Linked DNA regions of Homo sapiens: region 1 is linked to region 2. The links are contacts of gene promoters, found by promoter capture Hi-C in human tissues and cell types (Jung and others, 2019). All regions are on one chromosome and are shown on one strand. The core of a region is centred on a gene start or on the middle of the fragment in contact, and the rest is flanking DNA. Distances in the headings are between cores, read along the strand shown.

What was found. Contacts are between HindIII fragments. The study calls those that stand out against the background at their distance.
Region 1: a contact is called between a fragment that was not itself captured here and the fragment with the promoter of BEND3 in region 2, in 2 of the 25 tissues and cell types used here (aorta and pancreas).

Annotation. Positions count from the first base shown.
Region 1 is chr6:107,196,336-107,201,779 of GRCh38, forward strand. All of the region lies in intron 6 of PDSS2 (decaprenyl diphosphate synthase subunit 2), which reads right to left. Among named protein-coding and RNA genes, the nearest start is that of BEND3, 84 kb to the left of the region's middle. The HindIII fragment of the contact is 4,918 bases long and covers 1,427-5,444 here.
Region 2 is chr6:107,111,491-107,116,772 of GRCh38, forward strand. BEND3 (BEN domain containing 3) reads right to left here and starts at 4,025. Exons shown (of 4, transcript NM_001367314.1): 1 at 3,600-4,025. RefSeq lists silencers at 2,739-3,648, 3,779-3,828, 3,869-3,918 and enhancers at 4,511-5,274, 5,275-5,282. The HindIII fragment of the contact is 9,723 bases long and covers 1,175-5,282 here.

The DNA.
Region 1 (5,444 bases), core at 2,636-5,135, 85 kb after region 2:
CTGGCCTTGATCTTACGAATAATCCACAGATGGCCTGTGACCAAAATTTCATCAGCAGCACTTTCCCAACATGCTTAGTCTTTCAGTTCTCAAACTCGCAGCTGACTCTTGAATTCATTTAGGTTAATGGACATCTGACATTGAGGCTGATCCTGTGGTCACAAGTTTTCCACTTTTTCCACTCTCCATCCTTTTCCTTGTCTTTTGCTGACTACTATGAATTGCTCAAGTGCAGCACTTTTCAAATGACACTAGGATATTCTGAAATATATATTTGGTCATAGTCCAGTTTTCTGGCATACAACTCCTAAAATCTTCAGAAACTCACCAAGTGATGCCTTTTTGTATGTTAACGAGCTGACTGATGGCTGGCAACTCCTGACTTCAGGATGGGGACTGGTCATGGCAAAGACCAAGACAGGATTAGAAGGTTAGGGCTTTCAGCCCACCCCCAAATTTCTGGGGAGGGGAGAGGGGCTGAAGGTTAACTTGATCACCAATGGCCAATGGCTTAATCAATCATACCTATGTAATGAAGCTTCCATAAAAACCCAAAAATTTGTTCCATAAAAACACAGAATTTGGAGAACTTCTGGGGAGCTGAACACATGGAGGTTTCTATATGGTGGTACACTGGAGAGGAAATGGAAAACTCCACGCCCCTTCCCACTTGTCTTAACTTATGCATCTTCTCATCTGTGTTCTTTGTAATATTCTTTAAATAAATTGGTAAGTATAAGTGTTTCTGTTCCAAAATTCACATAGCTGTGAAAAAGAAAGTAAGTGTTTCCCTGAGTTCTGGGAGCTGCTCTAGCAAATTAACTGAACCCAAGGAAGTGGTCGTGGGAGCCCCACTTTATAGCAGGTCAATCAGAAGCACAGGTAACCTGGAGCTTGTGACTGGCATCTGAAGGTGGGGGTGGGGTAAGGGGGGGGTGCAGTCTTGAGCCCTCAACCTATAGGATCTGACACTATCTCCAGGTAGATCGTGTCAAAATATGGTACGTGCCTGTTGTCCCAGCTACTTGGGAGGTTGAAGTGAGAAGATAGCTTACGGTCAGGAGTTTGAGGCTGCAGTGAGCTATGATTGTGCCTGTGAATATCACTTCACTCCAGCCTAGGCAACAAAGTGAGACCCCCATCTCAAAAAAAAAAAAAAAAAAAAAAGAAGTGTCAAAATAGAAGTAAGTTAGAGACACTCAGCTGGTGTCAGCTTGCTGAAGTGATTGCTTGCTTGTTGATGGGGAGAAATCCTTGCATGTTGGGTCATAGAAGTGTCCTGTGTTGACTATTTTTGAGAGACTGTATCAAACACTTTTGAGTGTGTTTTCTTCCACTCACAGAAGCACAAACTGGGAGTCCTAGAGAATTGTTCCTGAGGTCAAACAGCTCAACACTGAGCACATCTGTCATTTCCTCACTGTCAATGTTGCCTCTCTTCTAACCATCTCCTCTTCATGCTCTCTCAATATTCTCATCGTTCAGTGCTTATCATGCGGTGCTTAAGAGTGTTGAAAGTAGCATTTGTTGAAAGTTAGAAAGTTGAACTTCTGTACTTGAAGACTGAAAGGCAAACCATGGAGAAACTATGACTGACAATGACTTAGGGGTGGAATTTTCCTTTTGGCTGCATTGAGCCACCTCCCACTCTGTCTCAAAAAAATTCAACAGGTAAGAAGAGTGAATATAATATTCTTTACTGATAAGGACATCTAGAATAGCCCTATCACAAATTCCTGTAAAACCATTTTTCCCATCCCATACTTTGTTTATAGACTAATCATCTTGGAAAATTCTAGTACTTTGAATTACCTGTGCTTAATCACAACTTATTTGCAAACCTCAAACTCTCTCACTTTACTTTGTCTTCTTAGCTTGGCCACTACCCTGTCACCCAGTAGGGACACATTGTTGGGGATGACGGCAGAGAAATTCCATGGATATAATCTAGATCTGCTCAACATCAGCTCTATAATGTTTTGAAAGCTGAGAGAGTAGAAGCCTACATAAAATGACAACACCGTTACCACAGCCATTATAATCTGAACATGCAACTATTGATATGTGGCTCACCCGAATATCCTTTTCATTTTGTCACAATAAATGTTCTAGCTCTATGAAATCATTTTACTCTTGATCACTTTAGCTTGTACATAAAAGTATCATTTATTTTAGGAAAAAACTCTGGTAAATATTTAAACTTCTATAGGTATATAATACATATATGTTTCCAGCTGATACATGGGTATAATATCTAAATATGCCAAACATACCTGACAACAGACATTCTGATATGGTGTTTTCTCACAAAAAGCTTTAGAGCTTTTAAAAATATACTGACCAGGCACGGTGGCTCATGCCGGTAATTCCAACACTTTGGGAGACCAAGGCGGGCAGATCACATGAGCACAAGAGTTTGAGATCAGCTTGGGCAACATGGTGAGAAACCTGTCTCTACAAACAATAACAACAACAACAACAACAACAACAACAACAACAACACAGCAAAAATCAGCCAGGCATGGTGGCGCGCACCTGTAATCCCAGCTACTTAGGAGGCTGAGGTGGGCAAATTGATTAAGTCCAGGAGGTCAAGGCTGCAGTGAGCTGTGATTGCACCACTGCATTCCAGCCTGGGTGACAGAATGAGACCCTGTCTCAAAAAATAAATAAATAAAAATATGTCAAGTTAGATACAAATAAATGATTTAGATTCCTACATAAATGATATTTCTCATTAAATACTATCCTTATTCTTTTTGTAAGATAGTTAATTTGGGAGAAGCGATAGTTTCTATTACACCTCTTGGTTGCTCATTCATTTAACAAATACTCATTCAGCACCTACTATGAGTCAGACACTGCTTAGGCACTACAGACACAGGCATGAACAGAACAGATCAAAATGTGTGACCTCTTGGAATTTATATTCTAGGAGGTTACAAAGTATTGTGATTGACTGACTGTTTGATTGGTTGATTAAACAGGGTCTTACTCTGTCTGTCACCCAGGCTGAGTGCAGTGCTGTAATCACAGTTCACGGCAGCCTCAACCTCTCAGGTTCAAGTGATCCTCCTGCCTCAGCCTCCTGAGTAGCTGGGGCTACAGGTATGTACCACCATGCCTGGTTAATTTTTAATTTTTTATAGAGATGGGGTCTCACTATGTTGCTCAGGCTGGTCTCGAACTCCTGGATGCAACTGATCCTCCTGCCTTGGCCTCCCAAACTGCTGGGATTACAGGCATGGGCCACTGCACCTACCTACACAATACTGTTTTAGATATGCTTCGTCTACAATCTCCCAAGCTCCATGAAAGCAAGGAAATTTTCTCTTGCTCACAACTGTATCCCAAGTTGAGATCAGTGTCTGAGTGAATGAATAAATGGATGAAGCTTTTTCTTTATATGTATTGGTTATGTACTACTTATTCAGGGAATGTACAGGAAAAACGAATTTTACTCACTCCTAGTTCTAGGAAAGCTGGATGTTTTTGTTTGTGAGCTAGTATGCAGGTAATGTAGAGCCCTTAGCTGATGCCTTACATGTAATTTTTACCCATATAGAACAATGGCATATTTTCATTTTCTCACCCACCTTCTATTTATAAATACACTAAAGAAGGGAACCTAAGCTTCCATCTGTAGAAAACAAATTCAATGATTTCATGAAAATTAACCAACAAAAGGCTAGGACAGAGAAGAATTAGTGTAATTAAGTGCTTCAACCTTAAAAGCAGTGCGTCTAAAGGAAAAGACCTTAGAATGGAAGTTAACAGATCTCCAGAGAGATTTCAAGACATACACCTCAAAATTTCAGGGATTAAAGGCCTTGTCTACTGATTACAGCAAAAGGCCTAAGATCTTAATTGTGAACACTTCAAGAGGCATTGTGACCTGGGAAGATGGATATGTTGGGAGCCAGAAAATATGGTTTCTAGTCCTTCATTGGTTAATAACTTGAATAATTTTTACATTTTTGTATAGGCCTTCATTTCTTGATCTGTAGAACACCAGACCAGACCAGAAGTTCCCAGATGCTGGGCTCTCACAAATGCTGGGCTGGATGTATTGGAATCACCTGGGTAGCTTGCGAAAAATGCAGATTCTCCATAGCCTACCCCTGTGATTCTGATTTGTTTGAGGATCATTGGTCTGGCCTATGTCTAATGTCTTTTTTAATTTGTGCTTCTATGTGCATCAGGGTTTACTTCAAAGGCTGAAAGAGAACAACTATGTAAACTCCATAAGTCTCGAGGAGAATGGACTGCAACTTTTCCCTTTTTGTTCTGACACCTGCCACTTATCATGTGTATTTCTAGCAGAGCAAGATATTATTATTATTATTATTGAGATGGAGTCTCACTCTGTTCCCCAGGCTGGAGTGGAATAGCGTGATTTCGGCTCACTGCAACCTCCACCTCTCAGGTTCAGGCGATTCTCCTACCTCAGCCTCCCTAGTAGCTGGGATTATAGGTGCCCACCACCATGCCTGGATAATTTTTGTATTTTTAGTATAACGGGGTTTTGTCGTGTTAGCCAGGTAGTCTCAAACTCCTGTCCTCAGGTGATCCGCCCACCTCAGCCTCCCAAAGCGTTGGGATTACAGGCATGAGTCACTGCGGCCAGCCAGAGCAAGATATTATTAAAATAACTTTCTCACAGGGGCCCAAAATAGGCTGATATAAAATAAATGGAATCTATATTTCAACAGCCAGCAGTCCTGAACCTCTTCCTGCCACACTGTTCGTCCCCAGAAGCCGCTGTAAATTCTACCATACACAGCAATTCCCTGAGGGCTTCATTACTAGGGTCTTTAAAAGGGATTCACTCATCTTTTTGCCTCCTGTAGGTGTGCTTCTTGTCAATCCAGGTCAAGAGAAAAGAAAGTAATTTTTTCCAAATCTTTAGCAGTTCACAGAGAATGTGTGGTTTGAACCTTGTTTTATCTTTTAAAAATGTGAAAATAGACAAGATAGTGTGCCTGTGCTCATGACACTGGAGGCCTCCTCGGACAGCTATAGTGAACACTGTAAAACAATATTCCATACAAAAGCAAAAAAAAAAAAAAAAAAAAAAAAGCCAGCACTCTGATTGAGAGGATGCACAAAGGAATTAATTCCAAAGGTTTATATACCAGTCTCTGTAGACTAAAGGCAGACAGATTCCCTGTTGGTAAGTAATGGATGTACAATGTGGTCTTTTACTTTAAGAAACAAACGTTTTTTTATAAGTCAGGTAACAAAGAAGGATTGGATGACATAAATGAACTGTTTCCAATTTCCAACTACTGTTATCTGGAGTTGAAAGCTGGATATGGGGACACCTTTTTCTAAAAGCAGAAAACTAATATTCCACAGCAGGGAGTCCAGAAATTGCTAGAGACTAATCATCTCTACTTATCAGGTTATTCTTCCCAAATGTTACAGGCTATATTTTAGAATAA
Region 2 (5,282 bases), core at 2,775-5,274:
ACAGAGTGAGACTGCATCTCAGAAAAAAAAAAAGAGAGAGATAACACATACACATCCCTATAAACACCCCTAAAAAGATACAGAATAGGTTTCCCATTCCAAAGAGTAATTCTACAATTAATTCCCCAAGCTTACCTTAGCCAATGATGGGAACAATACAATTAGGTTAGCAACCAAAACCTATCACTTAACACCAAAATTAAGCACCAGGCCAGGCGCGATGGCTTACACCTGTAATCCTAACACTTTGGGAGGCTGAGGCCGGTGGATCACTTGAGGTCAGGAGTTCAAGACCAACCTGGCCAATAAGGTGAAACCCCATCTCTACTAAAAATACAAAAATTAGATGGGTGTGGTGCCACGCACCTGTAATCCCAGTTACTTGGGAGGCTGAGGCAGGAGAATCACTTGAACCCAGGAGATGGATGTTGCAGTGGGCCGAGATCGCGCCACTGCACTCCAGCCTGGGCACCAGAGTGAGACTCCGTTTCAAAAAAAAAAAAAAAAAAAAAAAAATTAAGCACCAGGAAAAAAACACTACATCCCAGCCTCCCATATACAAACACCAAATCATTTTTGCTGGTTGGCTAGCGACCTTCATACTCTATGCTTCTACATTATACAATTTGAGGTCTTTAAACTTTTCATCATGGTGTCAATACAATTCATATAAACATGCTGTTTTCCTTCTCATTGTTTCCAGGGACTTTCTAGGCAGCGCTAAAAAGTAGCAGGTGAGACATTAATATAGGATATTACATTTTCACCTAATCAAACCTGTGTCAGGGCTCACTCCAATTTTTCTCTTTGTAATTATTGGACATTCTGCTATGCTTCTGCTCACACAGGGGTGCTTAGGAGCCAAGAAAGAACCCACAGGGAGAGGATGTAAAGAAAATGTGTCAATATGGCACCTGTTAATAGATTGTTGGGATGCTGACTGTCTCATCTGCCAGTTCCTAACCAGCCTATCGTCTTGCTGGGCATGGAGAAGGTAGGCGGAATCACATAAAACTTTCCCATTATATTAGTTCTTCAGCAAGAAGATGGCATCTCTGGTATCAACAACAACAAAAAAAAACGCTGGGCGTGGTGGTACACGTCTGTAATCCCAGCACTTTGGGAGGCCGAAGCTGGCGAATGACCTGAGGTCGGGAGTTCGAGACCAGCCTGACCAACATGCAGAAATCCCCTCTCTACTAAAAATACAAAACTAGCCGGGCATGGTGGCGCGCGCCTATAATCCCAGTTACTTGGGAGGCTGAGGCAGGAGAATCACTTGAACCCAGGAGGCAGAGGTTGCGGTGAGCCAAGATCAGACCATTGCAATCCAGCCTGGGCAACAAGAGCAAAACTCTGTCTCAAGAAAAAAAAAAAAAAAAGAAAGGCTGGGCGCGGTGGCTCACGCCTGTAATCCCAACATTTTGGGAGGCCAAGGTGAGCGGATCATGAGGTCAGGAGATTGAGACCATCCTGGCTAACACGGTGAAAGCCCGTCTCTATTAAAAATACAAAAAATTAGCCGGGAGTGGTGGCACGCGCCTGTAGTCCCAGCTACTCGGGAGGCTGTGGCAGGAAAATCCCTTGAACCTGGGAGGCGGAAGTTGCAGCGAGAAGAGATCACGCCACTGCACTACAGCCTGGTGATAGAGCGAGACTCTGTCTAAAAAAAAAAAGCACGGTGGCTCATGCCTGTGATCCCAACACTTTGGGAGGCCAGGCAGGCAGATCACCTGAGGTCCGGAAACCAGCCTGGGCAACATGGTGAAACTCCGTCTCTACTACAAATACAAACATTAGCAAGGCATGGTGGCACATGGACTGTAATCCCAGCTACTCCGTGAGGCTGAGGCAGGAAAATCGCTTGAACCCGGGAGGCAGACGTTGCAGTGAGCAGAGATCAAGCCACTGCACTCCAGCCCGGGTGACAGAGCGAGACTCCGTCTCAAAAAAAAAAAAAAAACAAAAAAAAAACTCATGTTCCATGACAGGAGGTTGATGTGACAGATTTCAAGGGCCACACAGACACCAGCTAACCCAGCAGCAGCAACTGGCGCTCTGGCTCCATCTTTCCTCTAGAATCCAAGAGGCTCTCTCCATTCATTTAGGAAATACGCACTGAACGCCTACTAAGTTATGAGACACCGGGTTAGAGGCTGGGGATGTGAAACTGTGAGGGAGATAAAAAATCTTGCCCAAGTCCCAGTACCGAGGAAAGCTTGACAGGCTCTTGTATGGTAGTATAAAGCCAATATCTAGGGATGAATGGTTTAAAAAAAAAAGAGAGAAAAACGGACTGCAAGGGTGGAAGTGGGGAGCGGGTAACAAGAGAAAGTCCTCCATCCCAGCCGTTTATATACCTGGCTACCTGAAGGACTCAGTTCCTTACCTCAGTTTCCTGCAACCGTAGCTTTCTGGCACTATGCCACGCTGCCCTGTGGCATGTTTACTATTTGTATTCAACCATTCAAAAGTTACTTTAAGGAGATGAACTGCACATTTCCAACTCTAGTGAGTAACCTTGTTCCTCCCGGCACTCTTGTCGAGTTAGCGTTTACGTGCAGAATTCTTCCAGAAAGACCACCTGAGCAATCAATAAAACTTTTATCTCTGTAAAAACACCTTGTTTAAAATAGCTACATAGGGAGACGTAGGTAAACAAGCACACAAGGGCCTCCAAATCGGTGGTGCACAGCTCACGGATGAGGCAAGGGCAAAGCATGCGTGGGAAATCACGTTTATCATAGAGAAGGAAAGGAGCGCTCACGAGGAGCGGCGAGCGCCCCAGGCTTCAGCTTTGCGGCCGGCCGGCCAGGCCTCGCGCCAGCCCGGGTGCACACCCAAGGCGCCGGGCCCGCCTCCAGCTCCTGGGCAGCGGGAACCGCGAACCGCCGTGGAACGGCCGGGAAGGGAGCGCTGCGCCCCCTGGCGGCGGGGCCCATCCCTCTCCGCTCCCGGCCGCCGCCGCCGCGGGCCGGCCTCGCTCCATTTGCAGCCTCCGGAGGCTTCGTTCCTCCGAGCGGCTGCTCCCCCGGCCTCCCGCTCGCCGCCCGGCATCTCCCTCCAGTCCCCGCCCCCTGCTCCCGCTCCGACACCCCCTTCCACACGCCGAGCAGTGCCCCGCCAAAGCCCCGCCGAGCGCGAGCGCCAAGCCGCCGCGAGTACGGCAGAGCCTTCCGGCCGCCCCGGCCGCTCCATCGCGGCGCCCGGCGGGGGTGCGGGGCCGGCGCGCGGCGCGAGTGGGGCGGGCGGCGGCGGCGGCGCGGACGGTTCCACCGCGCGAACCCCCCGCCCCCGCGCGGCGCGCGTGCTCCCCAGAACGCCATGGAGCCGCCGCGTTCCGAGCGGGCACAAAGGGGCGCGCAGCACAATGGGCGCGGCGAGCCCGTGGGCGCCCGGCGCCCGCTCCGGTCGCTCGGCCCGCGCGGGGGTGGGCGCTACTACCGGCGGGCGCGCTCGGAGCAGCCCCCCTCCGCGTCCCCTCCCCTGCTCCCGCCCCCACCCCGGCATGGATGTTGCAGCCACTCTACCGGCCGCTCGCCCCGGAGCCGCCAACGCTGCCGCCGCCGCGCGGCCGGCTTGATCCGCCCCGCACTTACCTGGGACGCGAGTTCTGTACTTTGCCGGGCGGGCCCGCGCCGAGTTTGGGCGCCACGTGGGGGGGAGGGCGCGGGGCCGGGGAGTGGGGGCCGCGCGCGGAGGGCCTGGCCAGGGCGGCCCGGGGAGGCGCTGGGGGCGGCGGGCGGGCGAGCGCCGTGTATTTTCCCCTCTCTTTGTGTGTGTCCGTGCGCTGCGCTCTCGCGTGACGTGACGGGACTCCGTGTGTCATTTCCGCACAAGGACACAGGAGCCCCCGCTGCAGTGGAACCACAACCCCTCCGCCCCCACCCCCGGCCCGCCCCTCCCCCTCAGCGGGGCACACGCGGGACCGGCGGCGGCGGCGCTCGGGCGTGAACGGCCGCGGCGGGGAGCTCGGGCGCGCACTCCCGGGACCCAGGCGGCCCGGCGCGCTCGGCCAGCGCAGTGGCTCCACGTGGGCCCGCGCTGGCTGCCCGGGGCGGGGGCGGCGGCCGCGCACCCACGGCGCGCCGGGCAGGCGCCGCGAACAATGTCCCCTGTACCCCATGTGTCCTCCCACCGCGAGTTCGTCCTCGGAAACGTGGTTTCTCAGACCCGAGAGTTTGGCCCCAAACGGCTTTTTCTACTTTTTTGCCCCTTGCGGGACGGCGACTGTGCGGAGCTTGTCCCGCCTCGCGCCCACGCCTCTCCCGCATTTTTGGCCTTTGGGCCGCAGCCCAGGCCCCCGGGGCCGGTCTTCCCGCGCCGCCACCGGCACAAAGACCTTGGGGCGCGAGGGCCCGGGTGGCTCCTGCGGCCCCGCGGGGCGGCATGGAGTCCGGCGGGACCCGGGAGAGCGACCCTGGCGCTGGGAAAAGCTGGCTCTGGCCACTCCCCCTGCACGGTGGCCGCCCTCTGTTGTGAGCCTCAGAGCTAAAATCTGCTCTTGCAACCCGAAGTTCTGGGGTGTGAGGCTGCGGAGCGAGAGCTTCGGAAGCGCCCGCGCTCACAGACACACACCCCACAAACACAAACCCACGGGCTGTCTGCGCCGAGCGCCTAAAATAGAAAAACACGAGTCACCAACTCAATAAAGGCTGATTCTGTCTACTCCTAACTCTTGGACTGTAGATTCCCAGTTGATAAATACGAAATCTACCCCTCGGGTATTTTCTCAAGTCTCAGTGGCTGGGTAGGGGGAGGGGGAGGTGCTGGGTGAGAGTCAGGGAAGCCCAATTCAACAGTTTAGCCACGTTTGTATTTTAGGCAAACAATGAGAATGTAAATTTAAGAAAAATCCTTTAATTTGCCGATCAAAGAAAGTATAAAAAGAAAAATGCAAATGATCCCATCTGCTGCTCACAGCTGACTGGCTGCAAGGGAGGACCATGTGGCACGGCCCTGCGCGGTCAGTGAATAGGTAGAATAGATTTTTAAAAGAAGGCATATGTTGGCTCCTTGCTGCCCAGTCGCGGCGAGGGTTTGAATTAACGTATAGTTTGGGTTTACCGTACCCTCCTTCAGACCACTCCAATTGGGAATTTAGTAATTATGCAAGTTCCCCCCCTTCGGGCTTGAAATCAAAAGGCACAGGGTTAAGTTTGAGGAACTACGTGGAACATTCTCGAGCTGTATTTGGATTACTGGTTTAGTGAAGTCAGTACTAATTGCTATGCAAAATTAAGCAAGCAGCCTGAAGAACCAAGCCCTGCATCCAGGGGGTG